Linked DNA regions of Homo sapiens: regions 1, 2 and 3 are each linked to region 4. The links are contacts of gene promoters, found by promoter capture Hi-C in blood cells and fetal thymus (Javierre and others, 2016). All regions are on one chromosome and are shown on one strand. Each heading gives the region's core, a stretch centred on a gene start or on the middle of the fragment in contact. The rest is flanking DNA. Distances are from core to core; before and after follow the strand shown.

The links. The method cuts DNA at HindIII sites, captures the fragments that hold promoters and counts their contacts. A CHiCAGO score of 5 or more calls a contact.
Region 1: a contact is called between the fragment with the promoter of EML2 here and the fragment with the promoter of PPP1R13L in region 4, in 8 of 17 cell types (naive B cells, total B cells, endothelial precursors and 5 more). The highest score is 10.7, in naive B cells.
Region 2: the fragment with the promoter of MARK4 here is called in contact with the fragment with the promoter of PPP1R13L in region 4 in 1 of 17 cell types (M1 macrophages); the score reaches 5.1 in M1 macrophages.
Region 3: a fragment that was not itself captured here is called in contact with the fragment with the promoter of PPP1R13L in region 4 in 2 of 17 cell types (monocytes and naive B cells); the score reaches 6.5 in monocytes.

Annotation. Positions count from the first base shown.
Region 1 is chr19:45,637,422-45,640,794 of GRCh38, reverse strand. EML2 (EMAP like 2) reads left to right here and starts at 1,398. Exons shown (of 19, transcript NM_012155.4): 1 at 1,398-1,438; 2 at 1,922-1,950; 3 at 2,161-2,290. The coding sequence starts at 1,419. It overlaps MIR330 (microRNA 330), which reads left to right and starts at 1,708; the gene lies at 1,708-1,801. RefSeq lists silencers at 1,104-1,193, 1,214-1,493, 2,190-2,484 and enhancers at 869-1,720, 2,190-2,484, 1,721-2,572. The HindIII fragment of the contact is 2,349 bases long and covers 1-1,986 here.
Region 2 is chr19:45,249,669-45,252,939 of GRCh38, reverse strand. It overlaps MARK4 (microtubule affinity regulating kinase 4), which reads right to left and starts at 1,669. Exons shown (of 17, transcript NM_001199867.2): 1 at 1,301-1,669. The coding sequence starts at 1,351. RefSeq lists an enhancer at 205-761 and silencers at 1,235-1,384, 1,615-1,994. The HindIII fragment of the contact is 10,557 bases long and covers 196-3,271 here.
Region 3 is chr19:45,555,695-45,558,676 of GRCh38, reverse strand. All of the region lies in intron 1 of OPA3 (outer mitochondrial membrane lipid metabolism regulator OPA3), which reads left to right. Among named protein-coding and RNA genes, the nearest start is that of OPA3, 28 kb to the left of the region's middle. RefSeq lists an enhancer at 148-648. The HindIII fragment of the contact is 1,184 bases long and covers 750-1,933 here.
Region 4 is chr19:45,403,082-45,406,401 of GRCh38, reverse strand. It overlaps PPP1R13L (protein phosphatase 1 regulatory subunit 13 like), which reads left to right and starts at 1,333. Exons shown (of 13, transcript NM_006663.4): 1 at 1,333-1,403. RefSeq lists enhancers at 482-681, 652-1,447. The HindIII fragment of the contact is 7,528 bases long and covers 1-3,320 here.

The DNA of each region.
Region 1 (3,373 bases), core at 149-2,648, 230 kb before region 4:
TCGCTTGAGCTCAGGAGTTCGAGACCAGGCTGGGCAAAATAGCGAGCCCTCGTCTTTACTAAAAATGAAAATAAATTAGGCCTGGCGCGGTGGCTCACGCCTGTAATCCCAGCACTTCGGGAGGCCTAGGCGGGTGGATCACAAGGTCAAGAGATCGAGACCATCCTGGCCAACATGGTGAAACCCCCTGTCTATTAATAATACAAAAATGGGCGTGGTGGCGCGTGCCTGTAGTCCCAGCTACTCGGGAGGCTGAGGCAGGAGAATCACTTCAACCCGGGAGGCGGAGGTTGCAGTGAGCTGAGATCGCGCCACTGCACTCCAGCCTGCTGACAGAGCAAGACTCCGTTAAACAAACAAACAAAAAACAAAAAACAAAAAACAAAAAAAAAAAGAGAGAGAAAGAAAATAGCCGGGCGTGCTGGCCTTCGCTTGTAGACCCAGCTACTTGGGAGGCTGCGGCAGGAGGCTCACTTAAGCCTAGGAAATTCGAGGTTTCAGTGAGCCATGATCACGCCATTGCACTCCAGTTTGGTCGACAGAGCCACACCCTGTATCAAAAACAAAACAAAACAAAAATCACCCTAAGGCTGGAGTTATGGTGCAGTGGGCGTGGTCAGCGCTAGGAGGCCACGCAAGGGCAAGACCAAGGTCAAAAGCTGCACATTTCAACTCTGCTCAAACATAGCAAACACAAATACAGCGTTGTGTATACTCCAGGCACTTCCCAATAATTAACCAATTTCACCCTCGCAACTACCCCCGGGAGGTGTGAGTACTCTTATTTATTTATTTATTTTGAGACGGAGTCTTGTTCTCGTTGCCCAGGCTGGAGTGCAATGACACAATCTCAGCTCACTGTAACCTCTGCCTCCCGAGTTCGAATGATTTTCCTGCCTCAGCCTCCCAAGTAGCTGGGATTACAGGCGCCAGCCACCACGCCAGGCTAAGTTTTGTATTTTTAGTAGAGACGGGGTTTCACCACGTTGGCCAGGCTGGTCTTGAACTCCTGACCTCAGGTGATCTGCCCGCCTCGGCCTCCCAAAGTGCTGGGATTACAGGCATGAGCCACCGCGCCCGGCCGGGTACTCTTATTATCCCCATTTTTTAAATGAGGAAACCGAGGCAGAGGTTGGACGACCTGTGTACACTGCTAGGAATTAGCAGAACTGGGGTTTTAACTCAAGCAGGCGCGCTCCCGAGTCCATGTTCTCAACCACTCTCCCCCACCCACCCCGAAAGAACCTGGGATCGGGAGTCCACAGCCCGGGATGTGTGACCCGGTGGGACCCTCCGGCTCCAGGGGTGGCTGTGGAGGGCGGGGCAGGGGCGCGGCGGCCCGGGCGCCTCCCAGGGCCGGAAGCGGCAGAGCCGGTCCCGGCTCCACCCCCGGCCCCGAAGCTCCGCCACCCGCCGCCATGAGTAGCTTTGGAGCTGGGTGAGACCCTTTCGCAGACCACCCCCCATCTCCTCTCCGCGCTCCCGGGGCTTAGATCTCAGGTTTCACCCAACCCCTGGGACCCAGACCGGCGTGGGGACACGCCCCTTCCCTTAAACTCTCCCCGTTTCTCCCTCTGCTTGACGTTTGGTGTGCTGGGGGAACTGCGGGTGGGGGGCGCTGGGGAGCACCTTGCTGATTAGGAGGGAAGGGTCCTTGGTGACTCCCTTCTTCCAGGATCGCGTCCCTGCCACTTCGTGCTGTGTGATCTTTGGCGATCACTGCCTCTCTGGGCCTGTGTCTTAGGCTCTGCAAGATCAACCGAGCAAAGCACACGGCCTGCAGAGAGGCAGCGCTCTGCCCCTTACTCGGCCCCGTTTTCATCGGAGACCTCCGGGGAGCGGTGGGGGTGGAGGAATGGTTTCTCCCCTTTTCTGAACTGAATACTAAGACCCTTTTTTTTTCTTTGTCCTTTCCTGACAGCAAAACCAAAGAAGTTATCTTCAGTGTGGGTGAGTGGGGAGATGGGGAAGGGCTCGGTGGAAGCTTGCTTGTTGGGGTGACAGGCTGGAGCCAGAGGTCAGGAGTCTTGGCTACTGGGTCTTTGCCTCTCTGGCCTCAGTTTCCCTGCCTTTAAAAAAATAAATAAATAAAGCTGGAAGAGGAGAGGGAATAGGGATGGGGCTGGTGTCAGTGCCTGACCTCTGGGGGTGTCCTGGCAGAGGATGGCTCCGTGAAAATGTTCCTGAGGGGCCGCCCTGTGCCCATGATGATCCCAGACGAGCTGGCACCCACCTACAGCCTGGACACACGCTCGGAGCTGCCTTCTTGCCGGCTCAAGCTGGAGTGGGTGTATCCTTTTGCTGGAATCTCCTTGGTGCTCCCATCCCCCCAGGAGGAAATAGAAAGGCGGTCAAGGCAGCTCAGGCCTGTAATCTCAGCACTTTGGGAGGATCGTTTGAGGCCAAGAGTTTGAGACCTGCCTGGGCAACACACAAAACAAGCACAGCACGTTCAAGGGCTATGTGGCCAGAGTGGGATTGGTGCATTTGAGCAAAAAGAGTTGGGAATGGCTGGAAGCCCGGGCTCTGGAGTCTGACAGAGATGGGTTCAAACCCCAGTCCAGCCCGTACCTGGCCGTGTGACCCTGGAAAAGTCGTCTTGACTCTGAAAAATGAATTTTATGATCTCAGGTCCATAGACCTGTGAAATAATGTGTAAAGGTACTGAGCTCATAGTATGTGCCCCATGCACAGGGACTGATAAAACACTAACTCAGCACATTGGGAGGCCGAGGTGGGTGGATCACTTGAACCCAGGAGTTTGAAACCAGCCTGAGCAACATAGCAAGACCTCGTCTTTACAGGAAATAAAATAGCAGGCCGGGCGCGGTGGCTCATGCCTGTAATCTGAGCACTTTGGGAGGCCGAGGTGGGCAGATCACCTGAGGTCAGGAGTTTGAGACCAGCCTGACCAATATGATGAAATCCTGTCTCTACTAAAAATACAAAAATTAGCCGAGTGTGGTGGCATGTGCCTGTAAACCTAGCTACTCGGGAGACTGAGACAGGAGAATCGCTTGAACCCAGGAGGCAGAGGCTGCAGTGAGCCGAGATTGCCCCACTGCTTTCCGGCCTGGGCCACAAGAGTGAAACTCCGTCTCAAAAAAAAAAAAAAAAAAAAAAAAAAGAAAAGAAAAAGAAAAAAAAAATAGCCAGCCATGGTGGCATGCTCCTGTGGTTCCCAGCTACTCTGGAGGCTGAGGTGGGAGCATCACTTGAGCCTGGGAGGTCGAGGTTGCAGTGAGCCATGATTGTGCTATTGCACTCCAGCCTGGGCGACAGAGCGAGACTCCTTTCTCAAAAAAAAAAAAAAAAAAAAAAAAATCCAAAATAATAACTCAAGCACTTACTATCTGACAGACACTGTTGTAAG
Region 2 (3,271 bases), core at 420-2,919, 150 kb after region 4:
CCAGGAATCCCTGGGTCTTGGGGAAGCTCCTAGGAATCAGAGAAGGGGGCTTCTAGGAGAAGTCCTTGAAACCAGAGAAGGGTCTGGGGGGCCTGGAAGTATGGGGTAGGAACTTCTTGGGCAAGGAGCAGCCCAGATGAATAAAGGCTGAGCCCTGGGGAAGGTCAAGGGGTCTAGAAATTTGGGGAGAAAGCTTCCAGCAGATTGACCCAAGGGAAAAGGGCTTGAAACCAGGGCAAGACGAGAGGCTTCAGGTCCAGGAGTTTTCTGGAAGAAGGATCTGGGGCCAGGCCCTGTAGCTGAGGAAGGCCTCTGAAGCTGAGGAGGGGGCTTCCTTGGAAGGCCAGACTCCCAGCAAGGAAGGGGGAGGCCCTGGGGCAGGAGAAAGGACGGTGGTTTGTGGGGAAGGGGTCTGAGTTTGGCCTAGCAGGGGGTCCAGAGGTTGGGGGTTGGGGAAGGGGCTGCCTGAAGCTGAGAAGTTGATAGAGGGCGGATGAGGCCTGGAGTCAGACTGGTCCAGGGCCTAGAAATACCAGCCTGGGTGAGGTGAGGGCCTAGAAGTTGGAGGCCAAGGCTTCCTGGGAGAGGAAGAGACCAGAAAGGGTCCAGGTGGCATCTGGGGGCCCCGGGGTGCTGGGATCTAGGGACAGGGCTGCTTGGAAGATGGGGACCAGGCCTGGGACGGGAGAGACCTTGAAGAAGCCAGAAAAGGGCCGGGGCCCAGGAGAGGTGGAAACCAGCTTCCTGCCAGGGGCTGCCCACAGGCGCCCTGGGTGCGTCCTGGAGGGGCAGAGGGCTGGGAATAAGAGGAGGGGGGCTCCTGGGGAGCCGGCACCCAGCCCCAGACAGGGAAGGCCGGAGCCAGAGGCAGGACTGGGCCAGGCCCTGCTGAGAGTGCCAGGGCCGGGCCTTGGGGGGTCAGGGGCCCTGCAAATCCGGGAGGGGGCGAGGTGTCGGACGCGGACGGCCTGGAGGGGAAACGGCTTAGCACAGGCAAGAGAAGGGAGGGGCTCCTGGAAGCAGGGGAAGGGGCTTCCTGGAGGGAACAGACCCGAGCGGAAGCGGTCTGCACGGGGACAAGAGAGGGGTCCCGAGAGAGGGGCGCCCCCAGGGGTCGGGCTGGGCTGGAAAAGGTGGGGAGGGTGGAGAGGCCTGGAAGTCCGGGAGGGGTCGAGAGGTGACGAGCCGGGTCGGGCCCAGGAAACGAGGGTAGGGGCTCGCGGGGCGAGGGGTACAACGGGGAGAAGGGTTTGGCGGCTGGACCCAGCCAGGGCTCCCCAAGGGGCCGGGCCCCACTCACCGTGTCCGAGTTCCGATCGTTGCCCGGGGCCAGCACCGTCCGCGAAGACATCTTCTCCGGGTCCCGGGGGGCAGGGGCGGCCGGGTGGGGGGGGCGGGGGTCCCAGGGTCCCCTCTCTTCCCCTCCCCCCCCGCCGGCCTGGGGACGCGAGCTCAAAAGCTGGGCGCCGAGAACGCCCGGGTCCGCGCGGCGGGAGAGGGGGCAGGGCGGGGGAGGGGAAGGGACGCCGAGGGTCCTAGTGGCCCCGTGCAGCGGGGACCCCGGGCGCCATGGGGGCGGCGGGCAGGCGGGCGGGCGGGGGCCGCGGAGGGGGCGCGGAGCCGGCCCAAGCGGCGGCGGAGGGAGGCGGTGGAGGGGCTGGGGAGGGAGGAAGGGACGTCAGGGGGAGGGGCGGGCAGGGCGGGGCGCCGGGACCCCGCCCCCCGCCGCCGGCCCTTAAAGGCGCAGGCCCGGGCTGGTCGGGGCGCCGGGGGCTCCGGGGGCTCCGGGGGCGGAGGCGGGTCTGGGCACGCCGGCGGGGAGCGTGTTCTCGCCCGAGACGAGAGGCGCACTGGAGAGGAGAGAAGGGGAGAGAGAGGCCGGGGCAGAGCGCCAGAGACGCAGAGAGAGAGATCGAGAGACGTAGAGATAGAGAGACACGAAGAGAGAGAGACGAGTTACAAAAGGGTGGAGAGGCGCAAGGAGATGAAGGAAGAGCCAGATGACAGAGAGAGAGAGACGCAGGGAGACAGAGACAGAGAGACCCAGAGACGCAGAGGGACAAAGACTGAGAGAGACCCCACACACACACAGGGAGAGACAAAGAGATACAGAGACGCAGAGATCTGTGAAGAGATAGAGATAAAGGGACTGAGCCAGAGAAGACCCCAGAGGCGCTGCCCACATTGTCCCTCCCCCTGGCCCATTCTCTCCCCAGTTGGCGGGGGGGAGCGGGGGAAGCTCTCCCCTCGGAGGCCTAAGGGTGGGGTGGGTGAAGGGGATGGTGTGCGGGGCTTGGCCACTGCTGAGGGCTCAGTGACCTCCCTAGTCAGGCTGCCTCCACTCAGCCACATAGATCCAGACCCGCAGGTTGGGGCTGCAGCATCCACTCCTTTGCACCCCAGCTGGGGTGTGGGGACCCTCTCTGTCCACCTGTATGACCCGGGGCAAGCACTTGCCCTTTCTGGGCTTCACTTTCCCAGTTTGTAAAGTGAAAGGAAGAATCCGTGTGTTGCTCACTGGCAGGTGCGAAGGAACCCTGTGCAGGTATTCGCCTGCAGGGCACAGCCACTCCCCATGCGGGCAGGCTGAGACCAGAGAGGACAAGAGCCTCTCGGAGGCCACACAGCGCTGTGGGGACCATCCATGCTCTGTGGACCAGGGTGGGATGAAAGAAAGACAGGCATTACATAGTCTTGGCCTGGGAGTCACATGGTTTTGGGAAGGGGTCTGTGCCCTGCCTTCTTCTATCTGAGGCTTATTTTCCTGAGCCTCAGTTTCCCCTTCTAAAACAGCAGTGTGCTGGATCTGGCTGGAGCGAGCTGATTGTTATGTCTCAGGAATTTTGGAACTGGTTGTTAAACACAGCCATTATTAAAAATTAAATTATGCAAACATACAATTAAATTACATTAAAGGTACAAGTAATACATACTCATCACGTCCTAGTTATCTTACTACATTTGCCATTATCTGTGATCTTGAGGTTACCTACGTCTATTGTAGCTGCACAGTAAAATTACTATATAATGGGGGGCAAAAATGCCATGTGATATCACCTTGGTAGCTTGAAATTAGCCATGGTGGGAATATTTACACCATGGAAATTGGCAAATGCTACAAATTAAGGCTCCACACCCCCACCTGCAGAGAGCTGGGGGTGTTTTGTTTTGCTTTGCTTTGTTTTGTTTTTGAGACAGGGTCTCACTGCATTACCCAGGCTAGAGTGCAGTGGCACGATTATGGCTCACCGCAGCCTGGACATCCCCGGCT
Region 3 (2,982 bases), core at 92-2,591, 150 kb before region 4:
AATGGGGGAGCGGAGAAAGGGCAGGCCGCATGGGGGCAGAGTGCTCACCTTTCATAGTGGGGCTGGATTATGAGTAGGTAACGATGGCGTAGATCTGAACAAACCTCCAGTTGAAGAGCTCAGAAATGAGTGAGGTATGCTTACTATGGGCTGTCCAGGAGATGGCGCTAGGGGAAAACAGGCTGGCGACCGCAGTAGTTGAGGGTTCCTCTGAGGAGGGGACTTTGGCTTTACATTTTATAGTTTGAGTACTTTGTTTTCTTGCCATGTGTTACTTTTATTTGCGGCAGGAGTTGGGGGTGGGGCGACGGGGAATGGTAGGTTTGTTCTTTTCTTTTCTTTTTTTGAGACAGTCTTGCTCTTGTTGCCCAGGCTGGAGTGCAGTGGCGTGGTCTTGGCTCACGGCAACCTCCACCTCCTGGGTTCAAGCGATTCTCCTGTCTCAGCCTCCCGAGTAGGTGGGATTACAGGGGCCTCCCACCACGCCCCGCTAATTTTTTGTATTTTTACTGGAGATGGGTTTCACCATGTTGGCCAGGCTGGTCTTGAACTCCTTACCTCATGATCTGCCTGTCTCAGCCTCCCAAAGCGCTGGGATTAAAGGCCTGAGCTACCGCGCCCAGCCAGTTTGTTCTTTTCTTCTCACCAATTCCTTCTGATTGCTGCGTGGGGGACAATTGCAGAGGGGTGAGGCTGGGGCCGGCAGGTGGGAAGGAGGCTGGAGGCGGGACTCACTTATGTGTTAAGCTTAGATCTAATGAGCATCATGCGTGTGCCTGGCCTGGCACTGGGCAGTGCTGGGGACACAGCAGTGACTGTGACAGCCCTGGGCCCCACCCTTGTGAGGCTTACAGGACAGTGGGGAGACTGATTGCAGACAGGTAACTGGATAGCCACTATTCCTGGTTGTGATAGGCACTCAGAAGGGGATAGACAGGCTGTATTCCTCCTATTCAGGAGGTCAGGGAGGAGAACGTTGGTCAGAGCTGGGATGGATCCTGGACCAGGACAGCAGAAGGGAATCCACTGGGAGAGATGTTCAAGATGCAGAATGGACCCGACACGCAGCTGAGAGGCTGTGGGAGAAGGGGAACAGCTGGGCTGAGGCCCCCGTCTCTAGCCAGGGGACAGGTGTGGGGCCAGGTGCTGGGTTCAGGTTTGGATGTGCTGAGTGTGAGAGGTCTAGGAGACATCTGGAGCGTGTTGACCCCCGCAAGTCTGGTGAGTCCTCCAGCTTAGCCTGTCCCGGCCCCTCACAGCTGTCCCTTCTAGAATCACAGCCCTGTGATTCATCCCCACCTGGGCCTTGTTTCCTGAACCCCACATCTGACCGCTGGCCCGAGGGAGAATGCCGTCGGCCCCTGCTCTGAAAGCCCTGAAAGCCCATGCCTGCGTGCACACACGCGTGCACACACACACACACCCTCTTGATTTGATTTCCTGTGGCCTGGGTATGTGCCCACTCCCATTGGCACACCTAGACCCACCTGCTGGCCCAGATCCCCATGCTTGGTCTGCACTGAGACACTTGCATTTCCACGCTGGGAACCTCACCCAGGAAGGCTAGAGGATCTGGAACCCTCACCCCTCACCACTCTCTGGCCACTGTGCTAGGTGTCCCTGACATGAAGGAGGCAGTGACAGTTACGGGCCCAGCTCTGGGCCACCACCAGGTCTGGCGAGTGTCATTGTCAGGATGATGCTGTCCTTCCTGTGTTACAGAGGGGCCTTGGGGCAGGCTGTCATTGCTCAGGCAGCAGGTGGCGGAGCCCCGGGGGGACCCCAGATCAGCCTGACCCTAAGACCTCAGTGTGGGAGGGGTCTCCACAGCCTGGACCCCAGGAACCCACAAGCCCAGGGCCTAAGTCACAGCTGTAACAGTAACTGCAGCAGCTGACAGTGACAGTGACAGTGACTTCTCGGGCCCTAAGCTTGCACCTCAGGTCTTCCCTCCAGCTCCAGCAGAGCTCCCCAAGCCTTCCTGCCACCCCACCCCTTTGAAGATGAAAAATGTGTAGTGGCTGGGCTCAGTGGCTGTCTCCTGTCGTCCCAGTACTTTGGGAGGCTGAGGCAGGATGATTGCTTGAGCCCAGGAGTTCAAGACCTGCTTTGGCAACATAGCAAGACCCAGTCTCTACCAAAAAACAATTTAAAAACAGCCAGGCATGGTGGGGCATCTATAGTTCTAGCGGCTCCAGAGGCTGAGGCAGGAGAATTGCTTGAGTCTAGGTGTTCGAGGTTGCAGTGAACTGTGATGGAGCCGCTGCCTTCCATCCTGGACCACAGAGTGAGAGCCCATCTGTTAAATAAATAAATAAATAAGATGGAATATGGCAAGACCCCATCTCTACCCAAAAAAAATAAAATTAGCCAGGCATGGTGGCATGCACCTGTTGTCCTAGCTACTCAGGAGGCTGAGGTGGGAAGATGACTCGAGCCTGGGAGGCAGAGGTTGCAGTGAGCTGAGATTGTTCCACAGCACTCCAGCCTGGGCAACAGAACGAGATCCTGTCTCAGAAAAAGAAAAAATAAATTGTGTGCCCTCTAGTGCATTTTCAAGTTGACAAGTAAAACTTTTCTTCATTAACCTTAAGTAGTTGTGAAGGATGGAATTTCTGGTTCTGGTGTGTTATGATACTGACATGTTCAAACAGCTGGTGCATCCTTCCCTTCATATTTATTGCAGTTCGCATACAATAATGATTTGATGCCTACCAATGTCTGGTTTAAAGATATATATATATAGGCCAGGCATAGTGGCTCACGATTGCAATCCCAGCACTTTGGGAGGCCGAGGCAGCCAGATCACTTGAGCCCAGGAGTTCAAGACCAGCCTAGGCAACATACTGATAAACCCCATCTCTATTTTAAAAAAAATACAAAAATGACTAGGCACGGTGGCTCACGCCTGTAATCCCAACACTTTGGGAGGCCGAGGTGGGTGGATCACGAGGTCAGGAGATCGAGACCATCCTGGCTAAC
Region 4 (3,320 bases), core at 84-2,583:
CTGTCCAATATGGTTTGTTGCAACGCCTCCTTAAAGGGGCAGCCACACTGCTCTTCCTAAGCCTTAAAGAGACAGGACGGTCGATTGGTCTGAAATTCTTGAAGAGACAGGTAAGAATACTAGTTAGTAGGGCTGTGCTTTCTGTGTTAAATGTCTTCTGGGGAGGCCCAGATGCCTCACAAGTTCAGAACTTGACTGGGAGAAGCGGGAAAATGGAGAAATAGGGGCAATCCGTCCGGAGGGCGTGAAGTTCCAGCCAGGGGCGGGGCTTCTGGACTCCGGGGGAGCGGGAAACATAGGGGGAGGAGCTTGTGGTTCTCGAGGGCGGAGCCTCGGACCCAGGAGCCCCACACGCGTGGAGTGGTGCTGGGCACGGTGTAGCGTTTGTGGATCAAATGGGACTTGTAGATGCCCTCGGGGGTTTAGTCTCATGCGTGGGAAACCTCGATGACTTTCAGGAAGGGACCTGATCGGCGACTCCTCCCTGCCCCAGGGAGCGTGTAAACAGCGGCACGTGGACACAGATTTGGGGGACGCACCCACTTCCCTTCCCACTGGGGCCGCCCCGCGTTGGGCGGCGGTTGGAGCCGCGAGACGGTGGCTAGACAGGGTGACCCGACTGCATTCCTGGCCAGTGTGTCAGCGCCACTTCCCGCCCCCTCTGCCAAGATTTAGGATCCTACTCCAGAATTGGGGCACCCCTTCTCCCCAGGTGGGAGAGGCTTTCCAGAGCGGAGGGAGGGTCAAGGGGAAGGGGAAATGTTTCCCCTATCCAGGATCTCCAGACGGTTTCCTTCGCGTGGGCGAGAGAGACACCGGGGTGCAGCCCCTGCGGGCTCCAGGACTACAATTCCCACAGGACCCGAGGCAAAGAGTCGCCCGAGGGCGGTCGCGGAGGCTGCTGGGGGTTGTAGTCCAAACTAAGATTTTGAACTCTTGCTGGGACATCCTTTGAAGATCCAACCCGCGCTTTTTATCGACGGGGAGATTCGGGCTCAGAGACCCTGGGGGATACTGATCAGGAAAGGGGATAGTGCGCCTGAAGGGGTGGGGCAAGGGCTCAGGAGTCAGTCTCCAGCCACAGCGAGGCAGGCGTCTCGGCTCTTCTGTATCTCCCTGGCCTGGTCGCTCTCGGCTTCTGGGCCTCGCCCTTCCTGTCTGTGAAATGGACTCTGGGTGAATCCAAATGGGATCGTCTTGGGCTACGTCCTGTCCCTCCGGGACTACAAGTCCCAAGGTGCTCGAGGCGACCTTGGCTCCCCCTCCCCACCGGGACCCGCCTCCCTCCAGCCCAAGTCACGTCGTCTAACCTGTTCCCAGCTCCTGCCCCGCCCCGTTCTCCGCTCCCCAAGCCGGAGCCCGAGCTGGAGGAAGCCCCCAGGTGCCAGGATCTGCCCGGATCCGTGAGTTTCACCCTCCTGGGGACCAGAGGCCCTGAAAAAGCCCAACACCCGCGTCCCTGGGAGGATTGGGAGGGGACTCGGACGCCAGGTCCCAGGGCGGAATTTGGGGCGCGCCGACACCTGGATCCTTAGAAGGAAACTCCGTTGCCTGTTTTACTGGAGGGAAGGAAAGCGGGTTCGGATGCCTGAATTCTTGGAATGGAGGGATTCTACCCCTTCATCCCGGGGAGACGTTGGAGCTGGAATTCCTGAGTCCCTCGAACTGGGGGGCTCTAGGAAGCCGAGTCTTTGGGTAGTATAGGGGTTCGAATCCCCGAGTCTTGGTCAGAAATGAGAGGCTCAGACTGGTGGGGCTCAAGGTGGAATGGGTGACCACCCTGCCAGCCTCAAGCTGCTGTCTCGACCGATCTTCTAGGTCTCTGAGCAGAATTAAGGGTGGGGCAGGGATAGTGGAGCCTGGGTTCCTGAAGTGGAGCAGGACAGGTACCCGGGGTCCCTCCGGAGGCTGTGTCCCGGCTCTCCCCCGACTTTTCGGCTCGGGGATGGGGGCGGGGTAGGAGAGAAAACACCGAGGCAGATCTCCAACCTCCTCTGTGCCGCTGAGCGAACCCAACATGTCATTAACCTGGGCGTCAGACCTGCCTAACCAGAGAAGGGACATCCGCCCTAGGGCACCCCCTGGCGGAGGTGGGCTCCCCTATTGCCTTATGGGGTGGGAAACAGCTGGGTTTGCAGAGGTAGTTCTAGAACCCAGGGCAGAATTCCGGAAAGCGGCTATTGGATTCTGGGAGGTTTGCATAGCCGGGCATTTAACCATTACACGGAGAGGAAGGGGTAAACTGAGGCTTGGAGCTCACACAGGCAGTAGAGTTTGTAGGGTCAGGATTCTGCCTCCTCCTTCTTCTGCAGCTCTCTGGGGGACGGGATTCCATCCGCCCCCGCCAGATTTTCTGACTAACCTTCTGCCTCAGGGCTCCTTGCCCTGACCCTGAGGTGAGAAATGTCACCTCCACGCCCATCTGTCTGACCTGGGGTATTGTGGGAGATAAGGGAGGGACAGAGGCTAATTCTGGAGGTGTCTGTCTGTCCTTGAGGCGGGGGGAGGGCAGGACCAGGCACCTCCCTCTGTCTATCTCCCCGTTCTCTCCACCCCCATGCGTCCTAAGAAGGGGGATTAAAAACAGAATGGGGGAGGCGAGCATCTGATGAGAGAGGAGTGTTTCCCAATGTCTGGGCTTGAAGGGCATTTGATGATAACCTGAAATGAAATTAAAAATAATAACCGTGGTTGCCAAAACAGGGCTCTGGGTGTACCAAGCTCAGAGCTGGTAGGTAGGTAGGTAGGAAAGCTCGCATTGTCTAGAGGAATCTTGGGTGACTGAGAGGTCTCCCTTTGAATAAGGTTTGCTGACCCCAGGGAAGGACTCCTCATTACGAGTGGAGAAACGGAGGCTGGAGAGTGGATATTGCCCACACCCTGGGCTTTTGCCAGCTTCTGTCTGGAATCTTCCAGGGCTCTCCCAGCCCTCCCGTCCCTAAGTGACTGAGGGTGATCACTGGCCAGACTCAGGAATGTACAGGGGAAATTTAGGACTCTGAGAGGCAAGGGCTCAGGAAGTTGAGACCCTGGGTGTCAAAACTCAGGGCTTGTATGATCTCAGAAAGAGTTGAAAGGGCCCTTTTAGGGGAAAAAAAAATTACATTGAGTCTGGACCCCTCACTCTGTTGCCAGACCCTGTGTTATTATAATGAACAGCCAAGGACATCTGGTAATTATGAATCCTGTATGTGTGAACTTTATTTCGCGCACTGCATTGTTCTAATCACGGCTTATAAATTATGTCACTCAATCCTCATACCCCTTTGAGGCGAAGGTATTAATTCTTCCCATGGTCCACATGAGGAAACAGGCACAGA